Linked DNA regions of Homo sapiens: regions 1, 3 and 4 are each linked to region 2. Evidence: promoter capture Hi-C in human tissues and cell types (Jung and others, 2019). All regions are on one chromosome and are shown on one strand. Each heading gives the region's core, a stretch centred on a gene start or on the middle of the fragment in contact. The rest is flanking DNA. Distances are from core to core; before and after follow the strand shown.

What was found. Contacts are between HindIII fragments. The study calls those that stand out against the background at their distance.
Region 1: a contact is called between a fragment that was not itself captured here and the fragment with the promoter of TBC1D10A in region 2, in 1 of the 25 tissues and cell types used here (dorsolateral prefrontal cortex).
Region 3: a contact is called between a fragment that was not itself captured here and the fragment with the promoter of TBC1D10A in region 2, in 2 of the 25 tissues and cell types used here (H1 embryonic stem cells and hippocampus).
Region 4: a fragment that was not itself captured here is called in contact with the fragment with the promoter of TBC1D10A in region 2 in 1 of the 25 tissues and cell types used here (hippocampus).

The regions. Positions count from the first base shown.
Region 1 is chr22:29,984,272-29,989,615 of GRCh38, forward strand. MTMR3 (myotubularin related protein 3) reads left to right here. Exons shown (of 20, transcript NM_021090.4): 6 at 4,209-4,291. Among named protein-coding and RNA genes, the nearest start is that of MIR6818, 20 kb to the right of the region's middle. The HindIII fragment of the contact is 5,304 bases long and covers 1-5,296 here.
Region 2 is chr22:30,323,987-30,328,677 of GRCh38, forward strand. TBC1D10A (TBC1 domain family member 10A) reads right to left here and starts at 2,955. Exons shown (of 9, transcript NM_031937.3): 1 at 2,687-2,955. The coding sequence starts at 2,895. RefSeq lists an enhancer at 1,362-2,311 and silencers at 2,528-2,577, 2,878-3,207. The HindIII fragment of the contact is 10,227 bases long and covers 1-4,691 here.
Region 3 is chr22:29,825,609-29,830,631 of GRCh38, forward strand. ASCC2 (activating signal cointegrator 1 complex subunit 2) reads right to left here. Exons shown (of 20, transcript NM_032204.5): 3 at 14-172. Among named protein-coding and RNA genes, the nearest start is that of ASCC2, 10 kb to the right of the region's middle. The HindIII fragment of the contact is 7,224 bases long and covers 1-4,862 here.
Region 4 is chr22:29,874,918-29,879,654 of GRCh38, forward strand. No RefSeq gene overlaps it. Among named protein-coding and RNA genes, the nearest start is that of MTMR3, 5.9 kb to the right of the region's middle. The HindIII fragment of the contact is 5,221 bases long and covers 1-3,923 here.

The DNA of each region.
Region 1 (5,344 bases), core at 1,395-3,894, 340 kb before region 2:
TTGTTTTTAAAAAGGTAGGAATTATCCCACTCTAGATTCTGGTGTTTAAAAATAATGCACATGTATGCACACACACCCAGAATGAAATGAGGTAAATATAGTAGGGTATGATGGCATCAGTTCCCTCTGGAATGTGACAGTACTGTGGACATAACCTGTGCATGTCTGTATGTCTGTTAAATTTTTAAACTGCTGCTCTTCTGCTTTTTTTGGATTGATGCTCTTCAGGGTGTTAGTGTCTATAATGTAACTTGGCTTTTTGAGGAATTGGTTGTAGCACTGAATGTGTTTGATGCATTGTTTGAGCATGAGTTTGGTGAAATTTATATTAGGAAAAGCATTGTAAGGTGAGATTGCGTTACCTGGCAGGTGGAGAGATAGAGGAGAGAGGAGCAAAAAGAAAATGAGTTGCTACAAGACATTGAATCAGTACGTTTGAGAGGATTTGAAAGTGAGTTTATCTTGCTACTCTTTTACAAAAGGAATTGCATCTGAGGAGTTTTGATTTAAACTCTGTTTTCCTCTTGAAGATCCCTGGTGGAGAAGCTACTTATTTGTGAAAGAAAAACTAAAGTAGAGCTCATATGGAAGAGAAGCCCACGTGTAGGGGCAGAAAGAAAGACACACCGTGTATGGTGGAAGGAGCCCAGGCTGGAGGACAGACATGGATCCTGGTCCTGACTTTACTACTATATTAGCTTATAGTGTAGTAGTTTAACCTTCCTGGGCTGTAAAGTGGACTGGCTCTTGAATCTGTAATTTGCTTTTGAGGTTGAATATAGGGTATCTCTAGTTATAGAAATGTTAAGAGATTGTTTTCATATGTGAGGAAATTTGAACCTAAAGCAGTGTAGTGGGCCTTAAGAAAATAGAGAAACAGTATGTTTTGGATGGAGGTATGAACAGGAAAAGAAGGTCAATTCTGCCTTTTAGAAAAGGCAATCTGGACTGGGTGCAGTGGCTCACACCTGTAATTCCAGCACTTTGGGAGGCCTAGGCGGGTGGATCACCTGAGGTCAGGGGTTCGATACCAACCTGGACAAATGGCAAAACCCCATCTCTACTAAAAATACAAAAATTAGCTGGGCGTGGTGGCTGGGATCACAGGTGCCTGCTACTCAGGAAGCTGAGGCAGGGAGAATAGCTTGAACCTGGGAGGTGGAGGTTGCAGTGAACCAAGATCGCGCCATTGCACTCCAGCCTGGGCAACAGAACGAGACTCCATCTCAAAAGAAAGAAAGAAAGAAAGAAAAGGCAGTCTGTGCAGGAAGTGCTGAAGGGAAACACTGCAGTAGAAAGGAGAAGAAAAGGGAGATATTTGTTATAAAAATCAGGTGTTTCTCTTTTGTATGTCCCTATTCTTGCTGCGTATTAAGCTTTCCTGCATGTGACAGTCTGCATGAATATTAAAATCTGCTGTTCTCCGTATCTGTGACTTGTAATACACATGGTTGATTTTGGTGACTTGCTGGTGTCTGCAATCTGATTTCAATGCATAGAACCAACATTCTAATTCTTTTTTCTTCAATTTAAGATGTTAAAATATAGAAAAAAATATGTATATATTGCCTGAATTTTAGGTAGCAAATGTTTTGCATGGTCTGAGATAATTTTATGATATTAAATTTGGGCACGGGCCATTGGGCTCTGGTTTAGTAATAAGGATGTAAAACTTACCTGTTCTTTGTAGCAAAGTAGCAAAGGCTAATCCATTTCCCCCAGCAGCTGCTAAGAGCATTAGCTGGTTTTCATGTCTTCTGTCCATAAAGAAAGTCAGTTGCAGGGGACTTGGGATGCAGGTGACTGCTGCAAGAGCAGCCTCTTCTTGTGGATTTGTAAAGCTCACTCTAATCCTATCCCAGACTCTTCCCAGGCCCCATGACTGAGATTTCCTTAGTTGTGACCAAGGTTCAGAAAGCAGAGGCTGATGGCACATGGGAAGGCTGGAGGCTTGCCCAATGAAGCCAGCAAAATTTTAATTGGTAACATTTTAGAAAATTGAGATTAGAACTCACGGCTCTTAATTGCCAGTCTGGCAGCCACATTTTGGGGGGATATAGTGAGTAAGGTAGTTAGCAGGAGTATATACAAAATAAAAAGCAGTAAGTGTCTGTTACAGGCTACCCAGAGAACTGGCCTGAGAACAAAGCAAAGTTATCTTCTAATCTGTCTTCTTAATCTCAATATTTCTTCTTTATAGTTTTATCTCTGATAAATTGTAGGTTTGTTTGTTTTTTTTTTTCCTTCTTAGATGCACAGGTCTCAGAAGAATTCTTAGTTGCATCAGTTGCAGTTTCTCACAGCACCTTGGGGTTAAGGACGTAAATAAAAACAGAAGGCCAAAAGCTCCTTTTGTTCTCAGAACACAGGCAAGATTTTTCTTTTTTCTTTTCTTTTTTTTTTGTTTTTGAGATGGAGTTTTGCTCTTGTTGCCCAGGCTGGTGTGCAATGACACGATCTCAGCTTACCGCAGTCTCTGCCTCTGGGATTCAAGCGATTCTCCCGCCTCAGCCTCTGGAGTAGCTGGGATTACAGACATGCACCAAAATTACAGGCATGCACCAAATACAGGCATGCACCAAATACAGGCATGCACCAAAATACAGGCATGCACCAAAATTATCCGCACCTGGATAATTTTGTATTTTTAGTAGAGATGGGGTTTCTCCATGTTGGTCAGGCTGGTCTCAAACTCCTGACCTCAGGTGATCCGCCCACCTCGGCCTCCCAAAATGTTGGCATTACAGGCGTGAGCCACCGTATCCGGCCAAGATTTCTTAGTCTTTTTCTGACCCCCAGTCCTATTACATTTGTAAGGGAATTTTTATAGACTGTAGACTTAAAAGCAAGAAGACTTTAGTCCTAAGGTAGAAACTCCCAGTCATTTATCTGAGTAATATTATTTTGCTTTCTTCTCTTCTTTAACCCCTGCTCCAGTTTCTGTTTCTTTGTCCAGCACTGGGCTTCTTTTTGATCCCTGCATCCTCATTCTGAGAGTTCTGTGCTGACTGGCAGCTCTGTGGTGGGGCAGAGTTTGCAGGAAGCTTGTTCCTGAAACTGGCTCAGCTAACACGAGGGCCAGCCTGTGCAGACAGTACTCTTGTTCCTGTCTGCATTGGAGGAGACTGTCCTCCTCTTTGCATACTAAACACAAGTTGTTGGAATGCTATTTGCAACTCCCAGAGCCACATTTTGGCTAGACTTGATACACTGTAAGAGGCAAATGGCCCACTCCTTTTTCAAGGAGTAAAAGTATTCACTATTATTTTACCAGGTTTGCCTTGAAAGCCTAGAAATTGCTTTTTGAAGCCAAGGGTTGAATTAGGATGATTTAAGGGATAGGAGGAGGATCCTCATATTATCCTGAAGATTTGGCACCCTGTCTAGATGCTTTTGCTTCTATCTGTCTCCCTTCTCTCTATCTGCTGTTGTACATAATCCTGTGTCCAGTAGAGTCTGTAGACCAGATTGGCAAGGGGGAACCATTCCAGCTTGTTCAAACCTCAAGCCCCATTTGGCAAACGGGGCTTCTAACTGATTTTTTGAAGCAAATCTGACATAGTTATTATAGCTTTAGCATCCTTGATCACTGTATGGCCTTCTCCCTCCTTTTTGATACTTTTGGGTCTATTCTACTTAGTAGAGAGCCTGGCCAGCAGCTATTGCCCCATTGTCTTTTCTGTGCAATCCACAGTCAGCTTAGAACTCTAGTCTTTTTCAGGAGCCTCATTGGCTGACACTAAGCCATAAGCCCACTCTGTCATTTGGGGCAAACAATAGTCTCCCACTGGCATTCTGATCTGTAGTTCTTTTCTATAAGCAAGAAAAGATTACTGTTCTGGCTCCCTTCAGCTTCTATGTCATTGCATCATTGCAAATCATAGTCAGTTATAGCATCTAAAAGTAGTACTCTGATCTTGTGAATTCGGTGCCTGAGAGATATATTCTCCCCTTCTTCCAAAGGTGGTGCCACCTCTTTGTTGCCTTCATGCTATGACATGACTTGAGACCACTGATTTAGAGATAAAGGGAAGTCCTAATTCACTTTGTAGTAAATCACTTGAGTACTGTTGATCCAGATAAGTTTGCAGTTCTATTTTTGTTGCTTTCCCTTATAGATCTTTTTAATTAGTCTTGTTGGACACATTGAAGAACTCCAGGGTCAATGCCTTTTTGACTAAGAGGACTTCATTTTTTTAAAATTGCAGGTTCCATTACAGCTTATAGAAAGTGTTGAATGCCGAGATATATTTCAGCTTCATTTGACTTGCAAAGACTGCAAAGTTATCAGGTATGTGGTATGGTATGTTTGTGTTGCTGTTTAGTGTGGAAAATATTTTTTAAAGAATGGGTCCATTATTTGGTAACTTAGTAAAATACCTTTTGATGATTAGCCTCATTAGGAATATTTTCTGAGTAGTTTGTGCCTGAAATATTTTATCTGTAGGATGTATACTTTGCTATGTTGAAAGATGTTTTTTTTTTTTAATTTGGAAATAATTTTAAATTTACAAAAGGGCAAAAATAAAAATACTAAAAAGAACATCAGTACACCATTCACCCAGATTCACTTGTTAACATTTTACCATTTGCTTTATTATTTGCAGAGGCGTGTGTGTATGTGTGTGTGTGTTTCTTTTCCTGAACAGATTGAGAGTAAGTTACGTAATCATGGCTCTTAACCCCAAAATACTTTAGTGTGCTTTCCTAAGAATAGGGATATTTTCTTACATAACCATAACATTATCAATTTTCAATTTTACATTGATAATACTTACATCCAGTCTACTATACATGTTCCAATTTTGTCAGTTCACCTAATGACCTATTGATACTTTTTTATAGCATTCTCCCTCACCTCCATCTCATTCAGTACAGGATCCAGTCTAGGTCATATATTGCATTTAGCTGCCATGACTCTGTAGCCTTCTTTAATCTGGAACATTTTCTTTTTGTTTTTGTTTGTTTGATTTTTGAGACAGAGTCTTGCTCTGTTGCCCAGGCTGGAGTGCAGTAGCACGATCTCAGCGCACTGCAACTTCTGCCTCCTGGGTTCAAGCGATTCTCCTGCCTCAGCCTCCTGAGTAGCTGGGGTTACAGGTGTGTGCCACCACACCCGGCTAATTTTTTGTATTTTTAGTAGAGATGGGGTTTCACCATGTTGGTCAGGCTGGTCTTGAACTCTGACCTCGTGATCTGCCCGTCTCGGCTTCCCAAAGTGCTGGGATTACAGGCATGAACCACCATACCCGGCCAATCTGGAACATTTTCTACAGCCTTATTTTCTTTTATGACATTCACATTTTGCAGAATACAATCTTTTGTTTTAATGGAATACTTCTCA
Region 2 (4,691 bases), core at 1,705-4,204:
TTACAGTGCAGTCTATGGTTTTTTTAATCTACTCATGCCATGTAGCTAATAGTCACCTCAGTAAGGTAGCCTGTGACCTGCTTTCTTACCCCCAGGCCTGGCAACTTCCACATCCAAAATGTCTTAAGACAACCTTTGGCCCAGGGTAGCTGAAATGGACCTTTAATCTGGAGTCAGAGTCCCCACCATCTCCACAGTACCCATGAGGGCTAACGTTTCACTTCTCTAGCATAGAACATGGACTCCTAGCCTTCAACCACGAGACTGGGTTCAGGGCGGTCACCCTGAAGCTTTCCATAACTTCCCCTCTATGGCCTTGGGCAGGGACTTACTCTTGGCTTTTTTGAAACCACAATATAAATTAAGTAGGGAACATCGAAGCTTTCAGATACCAGAGATTTTAGGTTGACTGACAGGCTCCAGAAAGTGAGGGAAGGAGAGAGGACTGGAGCTGGGATCCCACCTCAGCCCCAGCCCTACAGACAGCAGCCATGTAGAGGGTGTCTGCAGAGCCACATCCCGGGTTTGTGGTTGTGGGGTAAGAAAGACAGATGTCTGGCTGCCTGGTTGGGGACTACAGCCAAAGGGAGGTGCTTCCACTGGGGCCTCACTCTGCCCACAAATACCAGAGATATGCCCTCATTTTTCTCTTCATTTCTCAGACCCTTAGAAGGAAAGAAAGAAAACTAACATTTTCTGGGCCGCTACTTGTGACAAGCGCTGTGCCAGGCACCTTCACGTATCATATACTCATTTAACCCCCAGAGTAATGTTGGGAAGTGGGTGTTACTGTCGCCCTTTACAGTGAGTAAACAGGCTCAGAGATTCAGGATCTTGCCCAAGGTCACAAAGCTAGCAAGTGTAATTCCTAAGTTTGGCCTTTTCCTAATATATCACATTGCTCTGCACCCCAAGATCTGGTTGATTGCCTGATAAGCATGTAGTAGGAACTCTCATGCCCTAGCATTCTCCCACAAATCTGAGCTCTTCCTTCCAAGGTCCCATAAATGCAACTGGGAACTCCTTTCCTAGATCTCAAGACCACACACCTCCCTGGGTCCTAATCCCAGGTGACTGCTCCTCAATTCAAAACACTCCAGGTCCCCACTAAGTTCTCACAAGTGAATCCCTGGGGAACTGTGACAAAGCATCAGTCAGGGTGAGGGTTCAGAATGAGGGGTGCTCTCTCTGAGTCCTGGACTAAACCTAGCCTGCTGTGAGCCAGTAGGGAGATACTGGAGGAGACAGATCCAGTGGGTGAGAGGGAACTCCCCTTAGGGGAGGGGCCTGGATTTCTCCAAGGAAGAAGGAGGCCTGGTGAATAAGAGGCTTTAGGGCTGGGGAAAATCCCGGAAGTGACAGGGGTTCTTAGACAGTTAAAGCGCTTCCATAAGTCATGAGAGAGTCTGGGGTGACCTTGGACAATCTCAATTGGTCAGAGAAAGGGAGAAAGGATATTCTCTGGAGTAGGGTCATGGCAGGGCCCCAGGAGCTCCTACTGGTGATTGGGATGGAAAGCACACATCAGGAGGGAGTCTTGTCAGTTCTGTGCACAACACTGGTCTCACGTGACAGGACAGCTGGGATGGGAGTGGGGTATGGAGTCCATCTTTCCTAAGGGGACCGCCAGCCTGTACACATGATCTCTGAGGCCTGGGCTCGGGGGATTCTGTGGGGCAACATGGGGCCCAGCTTGGAGGCAAGGTGCTGTTCCACTGCCCCACATTTCTCTGTCTGCTAGCTGGGTGTCTGGGTGCTCTCGGGATAGGACATCGGGGGGTGCTAATATGAGCAGGGACCCTGCTGTCTCCCTGCCTGCCCCCGTCCCACGCCCAAGATCTGCCCTTGGGAGGAGGCGCATACATACACAGGACATACACAGAGCCCATCTACTGGCTCCTGTGGCTGCTGGAGCTGATGGTCTGTCCTAGTGGTGGGGCTCCCTGTCGCCCTGTACGTGCTGGGAAGGGGGAGTACCTGCCCACCTGTTGCCAGTGCCAGTGGAGGAAGCTGTGTATGAGCGGATAGGGGGCCCTTCTCCGACCCTTCCATGAGGAGAAGGGACTGTCTGTCCCAGGATGGAGCTGAGGGGAGGGAGGTGACCAATGTCTGTCCATCCAGAGGTCTGTATGCCTCGAGGAAAGGGTCAGTCTGTCCTGGGAAGGGGTGGGGGCGGGGCAGTCAGTCCTGAAGTCGGTCTGAGGTCTCCTGGTGTGGGGGCAGTGAGGCGGGGAGACAAGGGCGTCTGTGGGTTTGTGGGAGGGGGAAAGATGGAGAATGAGTGTCTATGGAGGGGGGCGCCAGCCATCTGGGAGCCTGTCGGGGTGGCAGAAACAATCATCCCTAAGGTCTTGGCGGCAGGGGTGGGTTTGGGGCAGTCTGTCATTCTGTTCCACGGCTGGAAGGAGGGCACAGTCGGTCCTTCCTGGGAGCGGGTCAGTCTGTCCGGAGGGTGGAGGTGGCGGGTGGAGGTGTGGGCCCGTCCGCCCCCTGGGTCGGAAGTAGGACTGCGAAGGGGGCGGGTCTAGGAAGGCAGGGGTGGTGGGGGTGGGGCAGGGGAGGGAACGGGGATTAGTGGTCCCTGCCTGGGAGGGGGACGTGTCGGCAAGTCCCGAGGGCGCCTCCGTCCGTGTCGAGGCCCCTCGCGTGGGTGGCGCGCTCAGTCCCGACCCCCGGCGCTACTCACGCGCCCTCGGCGCCCTGCGAGCCCACGATGAAGCCGAACTTGTCGATGCGGCGCTCGGCGAAGCCGTTGGCCTCCGAGTCAGACCCGAGAGAGCTGAGTTCGTCGGTGGTTGCGGCGTCGGGGCCCTGGGCCAGGCTCTCCCGGGTTCCCGACAGGCTTTCCCCGGCCGCGGGCGCGCGCGGCCCATTCTCTCCGTTGCTCTTCGCCATCCCAGCCGCGCCCGCCGCCTGAGCTCCAGCGGCCACCTCAGCCGCCCTGCTGCCGCCGACGCCCCGCCCACGCGCGGCGCCTATTGGCCGCCGCAAGGCCGGGGGGCGGGGCTCCAGGCCCACCCCGGAGCTCTCCCCCCACGCCCAATGGGCGCCGCGGACCCCGGGCCCCGCCCACCCTCCCCCGGCGGGCGCCAACAAGCCCGAAGTGAGGGGGCGGGGCAGCCGTCACCGCAGCCCTCCCCGCCCTCCTCCGGGCTGCCAATCACAAGAACTCACCTGGACGAGCTCGGGCCTTTCCGGGTTGGCTCCAAGCGGGGCCTGTCACCTACTGCAGAGCGCGAGCCGGAGGCCCAGGGCTTCCTCCATGGATTCCTCATCTGCCTCCTGAGCCCCGCTCCCTGCGAGACCCCAAGGACGTGGTAGGGATTGTTTGCCCCATTCATTTATGAGGAACTCTGAGGAGGCCCAAGTGAGTTCAGGGACGCAGAGCGGCTTAAAGGCCCAGCCTGAGCCAGAAGTCTGGCAGTCCCATTGCACTCACTGCTTCTGGGGCTTTAAATTACCTCGTGAGACCTAATTATTAATAATCACCAGCGTTTACTGAGCCACGCACGCCCGAAGCTCTACCTACTTTCTCCTGTAGTCTTTTCCCCAGCAGTTTTATGGAACATAAACATACCATAAATTCACGTTTAAAGTGTACAATGATTTTTAGCATATTTACAGAGTTGTGCAGCCATCACAACATTCTAATTTTAGAACATTTTCATCACCCCAAAAAGAAACTCCTACCAATTAGCAGTCACTCCGCATCCTGGCTCCCCCAGTCCCTGGCAACCACTAATCTGCTTCCTGTTTCTATAGATGTCCCTTTTCTGGATATTTCATATAAATGGAATTATACAATATATGGCCTTTTATGTCTGGATTCTTTCTCTTGAACATTTTCAAGTTTCATCCACATTGTAGCATGTATCAGTGCTTCTGGATTCACATCTGCCCCAGGTATGTCTGACTCCACCCCTCCCTTTCCTGGGATAGGCCCACACCGCCATGAAAGACCTATACTGCCCCTCCTGGGAGCTGGGACTATACCAGATTTTGTTTTTCCATTCATCAGTGATGGTCATTCGCGTGTTTCTAGTTTTTAGCCATTATGAATAATGCTGCTCTGACCATTCAGGTACAAGCTTTTGTGTGGGGGCCTTATGTTTACATTTCTCTTGGATAGATAAGGAAGAGTGGAATTGCTGGGTCATATGGCAACTGTTTAACCTTTCGAGGAACTGGCAAACTGTTTTCCAAATTGGTTGCAACATGTCTTGTAATCTCTTAGCAATGAGGTATACACCATTATTAGTCCCATTTTACAGTTAAGGAGACTGAGGTAAAGTCAGTTGCCTAAGGTCCCAGAATTAGCTGTGAATATAGCCAGGATTCGAACTTAGCTCTTACCAACTGCCTATATTTGGAGGGATGGGCCGATTTTATCTATATGGGCTTAGCCCCAAGCAGCTGATTTCTGACCCTAGAGATTGTCAACTCTTGGATCTATAATATAATGATAGCTCCTCGCTTATGTCTAGTACTTTATGGTTTACAAGTCACAGTATATTGTCATCTGACACTCCCTGCAGACCTGTGGGAGAGACAGGCCTAGAGAGGGGAAGGGACTGGAAGACTCAGACCTGGCTGCAGGGCCTGGGACAGACTATTCAGGGCCCCAAGGCAAGCCCCAAGAGGGGGTCTTGAGCCTTGAGTGATTTCACCTTGATGCCATGTGGCCTGGACAT
Region 3 (5,023 bases), core at 1-2,500, 500 kb before region 2:
GATAGAATGTTACCTGGCACCAGAATTTATCGTGAGGCAAGGCCAGGAGCCAGTCGAGGTCATTGGCTACGAAGGTGGCGCGTTCCAGGTACTCCTCCACTAGGGCGGGAATGTTGTCTTTAGGGGGCGGTTTGTATAACACAAAATACCGGTCTGCCTTCTGCTCGGGGTGCTACGGATCCAAAAACCACGTGTTAACGTGGCAGAGGTTAGTCAGCGAGGGCCCATTTGCCAACCCACAGCAATGACAACACTTGGCTGTTCCAACCGGTGACCCTCCAAGGAGCTTTTAAGCATAAAGAACCAAGTGTATCTAACAAAGAGGGCATGGTTGCATTCAGCGAACACTAGGCGGTAATTAAAATCCATGTTTTCGGAGTGGATTTAATGACACGGGGAAAGGTTAAGGGAAGAGAAAGCAGGATACAAAACTCTCTGTTTAATATAATCAGTTTTCATTTTCCTTTTTTAGTAAAAGGCAAAAGATTTATTTGTTATGAAGAAAAACCAGAGCATAGTTTTCGGTCTTTAAAAAGTGTAAGTATATTCACACACTGGTATTGATTTTTAAAAAAGAAGCTGGGGAGATGACGCCCCAAAGCTAATAGTGGTTATCTCTGATGGGGGCGGGGGGTGGTGAATTGTGGCTTGAATAGACTTTCCCATTAAAAAAAAAAAAAGAACATATATTCATATATTACTTTTGTTTTGTTTTGTTTTGTTTTTGAGACAGGTCTCACTCCCGTTGCCCAGGCTGAAGTGGAGTGGCATAATCTTGGCTCACGGCAGCCTCTACCTCCTGGGCTTAGGTGATCCCCCACCTCAGCCTCCCAAGTAGCTGGGACTACAGGTGCACACCACCATGCCTGGCTAATTTTTTTTTAGTAGAGATGGGGTTTTGCCATGTTGCCCAGGTGGTCTCAAACTCCTGGGCTCAAGCCATCCGCCTGCCTTGGCCTCCCAAAGTGCTAGGATTACAGGTTTGAGCCACCTCTCCTGGCCACATATATTACTTTTTAAATTAATTTTTAATTATATAATTTGACACAAGCATCTTTTCTTTCAAAAACTTACAAGGTACAGAGAAGGTGAGCTGCCTGGGACTACACTCCCAGGCCCCATGTTCCCTGCAGAGGTAACCACTCACCATCTGATGGGTGTCCTTGCAGACCTCTTCCAGGCATTTACATTAAATTATACCCATAAAGGCCAGGCACAGTGGCTCATGCCTATAATCCCAGCACTTTGGGAGGCTGAGGCAGGCAGATCACGAGGTCAGGAGATCGAGACCATCCTGGCTAGCACAGTGAAACCCCGTCTCTACTAAAAATACAAAAAAATTAGCCGGGCATGGTGGCGGGCGCCTGTAGTCCCAGCTACTCGGGAGGCTGAGGCAGAAGAACGGCGTGAACCCGGGAGGCAGAGCTTGCAGTGAACCGAGATCACGCCACTGCACCCCAGCCTGGCTGACAGAGCCAGACTCCATCTCAAAAAAAAAAAAAAAAAAAAAAATTATACCCATGAAACAATTTGTCTGGGTCTGTTCTTTCCTTTTTTTTTGTTTTTTATTTTTTTGTAAGTAAGTCTCAGCGTAGAATCACAAGTTCTCCCTTCCAGCCCCTACTTGCCATGAACAAACCTTACTTTGTTCACCATAAAGAGGAGATGGGCTCAGTTTTCTCCTCTGACTACATAACGGGTGCTTTCTCTGGGGAAGTGGTAGCAGGAGGATGGCCAGGCAATGTGTCAGCTCTTATCAACCACAGTCCATCCACTTCCAGGTCTGTTGATCCAGGGGATATAGAAAAATTGAGACTGATAAGAGGTCAGCCTCCTCAAGAACCATCTATGCCTTCCTAGTGCCTTACGCGAGTTTCCAAACTGTAGAGCCTGTGGGTACCACAAGGATTCTTCAAGGCCACCTCTCATGTGGGTCTGCAGGACCCCCTCCCATTTAAATCAAATTTGTATCATGGAGTTACAGGTACAAATCTGTTGAAAAAGAAATTCTGCTGGCTGAAACAAGTTCAAAACAACTGTCAGGAGCCGAAATACATCTCCTTGGTTTCCAAGCTTCCTCCCTCTTCTATCTGTTGGCACTTTACCTCTTCCCTCACTTCTCACTCAGGCCAGGCTACTCATTCTCCCGACACACACACACACACACACACACACACACACACAACCAGGCTACTCATTCTGACACACACACACACACACACATACACCCAGACTACTCATTCTCCTGACACACACACACACACACACACACCAGGCTACTCATTCTTCTGACACACACACACACACACACACACACACACCAGGCTACTCATTCTTCTGACACACACACACACACACACACACACACACACCCCTGAGATTCTACTTTCCCTACAATCCCACAGGGGGAAGATGGACATCTAAATCACCAAGTGAGCACAAAACAAAGGAAGTGACAGCTCAAACCTGGCAGAGGGACTGTGGAAATGCAGAAGGGAATTAATAGCACCTGGAGGATAAGGGACGGCTTCCCAGAGCAAGCAGACTTCCTCCAAGGCTCCAAGCATTCGAGGATAAGGACTTCAAATGGAAGAAACATTTTTATGGAGGCATAAACATGGGTCATAACAAAAGGGCACAGATTGCACTGGGCGGTGGGAGACAGATTTGGTGAATGCTGGAATGGTGCAAATGAAAGCTGCCACTCATTGTGGACCTGCCCTGTGCCAGCCACTAAGCAGGCACAACCCACAGCCCCTATTTTTTTAATCTACAAAAACTATTTAAAAGAGACATAGTATTCATCCCATTTTAGAGGAGGAATCAAACAGTAAGTTTCAGGAACTTTCCCAAGGTCATGGGATTAAAGAGGCAACTGAGGCAGGATTTGAGCCAAAGCTTACACTGCAGACCTATTAAATGACCTATGGTATCTGTGTGCCATCCTGGTCTCACTGATTGTCCTTCTGACCCCAGTTCCAATCTCACCTCTTCCAGGAAGCCTCCCTGACTCCCATCCCAGCTGGATTAGGAGCTCATCTAAGCTCTCCCTCAGCACCTGCATTCTGTGCTCACCTCTCTATACCACTTGAACAGCATTAAAAGTGCTTTCAGATCAGTGGTTTGGATGGGGAAAGGGTGGGAGGAAGGCATGGATTGCAGAGAGGCACAAGAAAACTTTCAGGGGTGGTAGAAATGCTCATTGATGATGATAGTTTCATGCATGCATACAGATGGAAAAACCAATCAAATTGCATATTTTACGTTTTAATTTTTAAAATGTTGGCTGGGTACAGTGGCTCATGCCTGTAATCCCAGCACTTTCGGAGGCCAAGTCAGGCCCATCACTTGAGGCCAGGAGTTTGAGACCAGCCTGGCCAACACTGTGAAATCCCATCTCTTATCAAAAATACAAAACTTAGCCAGGTGTAGTGGCACGCACCTATAGTCCCAGCTACTCGGGAGGCTGAGGCAGGAGAATCACTTGCACCTGGGAGGCGGAGGTTGCAGTGAGCAGAGATCATGCCACTGCACCCCAGCCTGGGCAACAGGTTAGACTCCACCTCAAAAAAAAAATTCCCTTTCTTTTCATAGGTGTTGGCAAATTGTATATTTTAAATATGTGCAGTTTATTGTCCTTCAACAATGCCTGAATAAAGCTGTATAAAAGGGGAGGACTGGTCTTCCCAGCTGTCTCCCCCACTAGCTTGTAGGTGTCTGGAGGCAGTCTGAGCTTTGCTCACCCAGCATTCCGAGTCTATAGAACACCACCTGGCATTGAGCAGACTTTCTGTACAGATCTGCTGGCTGGACAAAGAAATGAATGGAGGCTGACTGGACGTGGTGGCTCACGCCTGTAATCCCAGTGCTTTAGGAGGCCAAGGCGGGCGGATCACAAGGTCAGGAGTTCGAGACTAGCCTGGCCAACATGGTGAAACCCCGTCTCTGCTAAAAACACAAAAATTAGCTGGTCCCAGCTACTCAGGAGGCTGATGCAGAAGAATCACTTGAACCCGGGAGGCGGAGGTTGCAGTGAGCCGAGATCGCGCCACTGCACTCCAGCCTAGGCGACAGAGCAAGACTCTGTCTGGGAAAAAAAAAAAATGGTTTTGCCATGTTGCCCGAGCTGGTCTTGAACTCCTGGGCTCAAGTGATCTACCTGCCTCAGCCTCCCAAAGTGCTGGGATTACAGGCGTGAGCTACCGGGCCTGGCCACAAGACTATTTCTTTTGGGTCTTCAAGTATGTGCTATTCAAATAGATCCTCAACCAACATTAGCTCTACCAATTACCCTGAAAAGGTGGTGTGGTAACTACCCTTTGGCTAGAGATCATGCCCCAAGCCAAGACTAAAGGGACAAATATAGGGTGGACACATATCTTAGTACAATCTTTCAGGAGCTGCCCGTGGCCTTCAGAGTAACACTCTTCAGTCTGCCAGCAAGACCCCTCTTCGATCAGGCAGCTGTCTCCCTCAACTCATCTGCCTTCCCACCATACCCCCAATTTAGTGCTGCTGTTGTTGTCCCTGCTGTCATCACCATTGTAATAACAATTTATTGAGTGCTTACTATGTTCCAGGCACAGTGCTCATTCACAGGCATCTCATTTAATCCCCACAACCACCCTGCAAAGCTGGTCCTATTATTATCGCTTTTGGATTTGAGGCTTAGAGAGGTTCAATAACTTGCCCAAAGACACAAAGACAAATATTCAAATATGTGTGAAATGAACACGAAGCCTGTACTTGCTAACTCTGCTATACTGTTGCCACCTCAAGTGACTTGTGGTTAGTGTAAGAGTCAGGATCTCTCAAGACTCCAGAACTGCATACTAAGGTTGTCCTACCAGGTCCAGCCTTCTCCTGTTGCTCTGCCCAGCTAGTGTTAAGTTGCCCTTCAATACCCAGTTCAGAAGCCCTTTCCTTCAGGAAGCCCTCCTGGGCTGCACGTACCCTCCCACCAGGCCAAAGCCTCCCTGCCCCTACACACCCCACTGGTCTGGATCGGCGGCCCCGGCTCTGC
Region 4 (4,737 bases), core at 63-2,562, 450 kb before region 2:
AATTTTAGAACTTTAAAAAAATTTCTGTGAAAACTGTCATTGGAATTTTGATAGGCTAGTATTGAACCTGTAGATTGCTTTGGATAATACAGATATTTTAACAATGTCAATTCTTTCAGTCCAAAAACAAGGGATATCTTTCTGTTAATTTGCCTTCTTCAGTTTGTTTCATCGTTGTTTTATAGTTTTTAGTGTACAGATCTTTTACCTCCTTGGTTAAATTTATTTCTAAGTATTTTTCTTTTGGTAGCTATTGTGAATGGGATTGTTTTCTTGATTCCTTTTTTGGATAATTAGTTGTTATGTTGTTAGTATACAGAAGTGCTACTAATCTTTGTGTGCTGATTTTGCATCCTGGAACTTAACTGAATTTGTTTATTAGTTCTAATGGTTTCCTGGTGGAGTCTTTAGGGTTTTCCATACATATGATCATGTTGTCCGTAAACAGAGACTATTTAACGTCTTCCCTTCTGATTTGGATGCCTTTTATTTCTTTCTCTTGCCTAATTGCTCTGGCTAGGATTTCCTGTACTATGTTGAATAGAAGTGGTGAGAGTAGGGGTCCTTATCTTATTCCTGATCTTAGAGAAAAAGTTTTCAGCTTTGTACCATTGAGTATGATATTAGCTATGGGCTTGTCATATATGGCCTTTCTTATGTTGGGATACATTTCTCCTATACCTAATTTGTTGGGAGTTTTATCATGAAAGGATACTGAATTTTATCAAGTGCCCTTTCTGTGTCTATTGAGATGATGGGATGGTTTTGCCCTTCACTCTGTTAATGTGGTGTATCACATTTATTGATTTGTATATTGATTGATATTTATTGATTTGAACCATCCTTGCATCCCAGGGATAAATCCCACTTGATCATGGTGAATGATCTTGTTAATGTGCTGTTGAATTTGGTTTGCTAATAGTTAAAAAATGACGTTATTTAAAAAATATCATGGTAAATCCATGATGTGTTAACATAAATGACATATTTTTATGTAAAAAATCTATATTTTCTCACACAAAAAATTTCATGAGAAGAATGGCATTGTTTTTAACATGTTTGCAATTTTCATTAAAGTCTGACAATGGAAGAATTCTGCATTCTCATATCTGCTTCTGCATTTAGTCTGGGGCAATTTGTTTTGGTTAAAGTACATGAAGAAAATGCAGCCTTATATATTTCAGTTCATTGTGGATATTCTTTCTTGATACTACACCAAAGGTTGGCAGGTAATAGTTTCTTAAAGTTTATTTGCATAAATTCATATCAATGAATTTTTCATACTCACACTAAAATCCATTGGTCTACCTTATACTTTTTTTTTTTTTTTTGAGACAGTCTCACTCTGTCATCCAGGTTGCAGTGCAGTGGCACGATCTTGGCTCACTGCAACCTCTGCCTCCTGAGTTCAAGTGATTCTCCTGCCTCAGCCTCCCGAGTAGCTGGGATTACAGGCATGCATGGCCACGCCCAATAATATCATGCATTGGTCATATGGAAAATATTGGTTTACTATGTAGTGCTTTAAAATGTTGGCACATTTCATTATATGATATAAAATATTCATTTTGCTAATATCACCAACCGTCTCAGCAGATGTATTGGGAAGGTATATTGGGAGGCTGTCAAGCTCATGGTGGGACATTTAAGTTTTCCAAAATTGTAAGTAAGCTTGAATTTTATCATTGACAACAAATACTATTAGCTGTCTTACTAGATGTGACAAACCTACTTCATATATTTTTGAGAAAATGTCTGCCAAACACCCAAATCTGAGTAACTGTAGTTTGCATGTTAACCATTCTTTCAAGTAAAAATGATATTTCCTTAAACAAGAGGCTAGCTCATCTTGCAACTCAAACAATTGCAAAAGTGTTTTTCTTTGAGACCACTGTCCTACTTCTGAATAGTAAACGTGCTTTTTGTGTGTGGGAAATAAGTGCCTAATAGGTAGAGGGCTTTATTTTACAGTGATGAAAACGTTTTGGAATGGGACAGAAGTAGTGGTTGCATAACATTGTGAATGCACAAAATGCCACTGAATTGTCCACTTAAAATGATTAATTTCATGTTATGTGAATTTCACCTCAATTGAAAAAGTGAAAAAAGGGCTTTATGTGTAATTTCCAATCCATCACACAGAATAGTAAAAAGGCTTGTATTCAAATATATAGAGATAATAAAATACATATTTTTTGTTACTGCTTCATCAATGATTTTCTTAAGTGAAACTGGCATTTTGTTTACTACTAGGGTATGTTGGTGAAGAGTACAATGGCTACTAGTACATATCATATCACTGCCTTGATTTGTGATAAAGTGCCACCAGTTTTACTACCACTGCTTTTGCACTATTAGTGCAAATGTCAACACAGTAAAAAGGCAAACAATTTCTTAGTATTATTAAAATAGTTTTTATTTATTTTATATTTATTTATTTATTTTGAGATGGAGTCTCACTCTGTCGCCCAGGCTGGAGTGTAGTAGCGCAATTTCGGCTCACTGCAACCTCTGCCTCCTGGGTTCAAGCGATTCTCCTGCCTCAGCTTCATGAGTAGCTGGGATTACACACGCCCGCCACCATGCCCAGCTAATTTTTGTATTTTTAGTAGAGATGGGGCTTCACTATATTGGCTAGGCTGGTCTCAAACTCCTGACCTCAAGTGACCTGCCTGCCTCGGCCTCCCAAAGTGCTGGGATTACAGGTGTGAGCCACCACTCCTGGCCTATGAAAATAGTTTTGACCCAACTAGAACCCTGAAAAAGTCTCAGGACCCTCCAGGGACCTGTGGACTATGCTTTGAGAATCACTGCTCTAGGCTCAATCAGAGTTGAAATTACCCTCTCCTACAGTAGGGTTGCAGTGTGGTGTTTGGAAAATCCCAGGAGACATTGAATCACAGCAACATGATTCAACTCTAATTTCTGTCTGACCCGTGGCAAATTGTTCCTCAAAGTCTGAAAACCACAGTTACTCCTGTCTGCTAGCTGGATTGGGAGACCAAGGAGATGCTGAAGAGATTATGGGCTAATTCACGCAAAGTGCCCACTGAAATGAGTGACATTTAGAGTTAAGCAGTATTACCCAGTGTTGGGAAGTCTGCATTTTGGGAGGCTGAGGGACCCCTGCCTTCCAGGGGCCCTGCATGACTTTAGGAAGCCTCCAACCCTCAATCAGCATTTTCATCTGTCTTAGGCTATTTCAGAGTCCCTGTGTAGCTGGAATAACATTTTCAGCTTTGAAGATAGGATGGGGAGCAAGGCTGAAAGGACAGCAGGAGGAGGAGGAGACGGTCAGGCGGGTAGAGGACCTCACATGAGAAATAGGGCAGCGAGATGAAGCGAGGATTGGTTCCCTCTTTCCTTGAGTCAGTGCACAAAGCTGGGGCTTTGTCTTCAGCCAAAGCACACAAGGAACCTGTGCACTGCTTTGGCTTTAAATGGAATATAAAACGTTCTCAAACCCATTACCTTAAAGAACCCTAACATGCTTCTTTTTTCTTTTTCTTTTCTTTCTTTTTTTTTTTTTTTTTGAGACAGAGTCTCGCTCTGTTGCCAGGCTGGAGTGCAGTGGCGTGATCTCGGCTCACTGCAATCTCCACCTCCCAGGCTCAAGCGATTCTCCTGCCTCAGCCTCCAGAGTAACTGGGACTACAGGCGCGTGCCACCACACCCGACTAATTTTTGTATTTTTAGTAGAGACAGGGTTTCATCATGTTGGCCAGGATGGTCTCGATCTCCTGACCTCATGATCCACCCGCCTCTGCCTCCCAAAGTGCTGGGATTACAGGCGTGAGCCACGGAGACCGGCCAACATGAGTTAAGTAGGTTAGTGATTACCACCCTAGAAGGCGATGAGGAAACTGACGCATAGAAAAGGGAAAAGAGAAGCAGATATGAGGAGGCGACAAGATTCAAATTTAAGTCTTTAGACACAGACCAGCTTTCTATTGAGTCTCCTTAGGCCCTTCTTCTTGAGGTGAGTTTTCAAGGCCATGCTGCAGTTTTCTCTTTCTTATTTATAAATAATTTACTAAAGTCTGTCTTAAAGGTAAGCAAGTGGGCAGCAGTGGTGATGAGGTGTAGTAATGAAGTTGACAAGCATGAACTTGGAGTCAAATCTTCTGGGTTCAAATCCTGACCTTTACACTTTCTTATGTGTAAAATGGAGGACAGTAACAATACCTTCCTATAGTGTTGTTGTAAAGATTACATTACCTTTAAATTTTATTTTATTTTATTTATTTCTGAGACAGAGTCTCGCTCTGTCACCCAGGCTGGAGTGCAGAGGCACCATCTTGGCTTACTGCAACCTCTGCCTCCCGGGTTCAAGCAATTTTCCTGAGTAAGCAATTTTCCTCCGGAGTAGCTGGGATTACAGGCACCTGCCACCATGCCTGGCTAATTTTTGTATTTTTAGTAGAGATGGGGTTTCACCATGTTGGCCAGGCTGGTCTCGAACTCCTGACCTCAGGTGATCTGCCCGCCTCGGCCTCCCCAAGTGCTGGGATTACAGGTGTGAGCCACCGTGCCCGGCCTAAGATTACATTAGATATACATGTAAAGTGCTCGTATAGCGCCCGCCACAATTGAAAGGTTCAATCCAGCCAGTTGCAGTGGTGAATACCTCTAGACCCAGTAGGGAAGCCGAGGCAGGAGGGTTGCTGGAGCCGGGGAGTTGGAAGCTGTAGTGTGCTGATATCTGGTCGGTGAATAGCCACTCACTCCAATTCATGT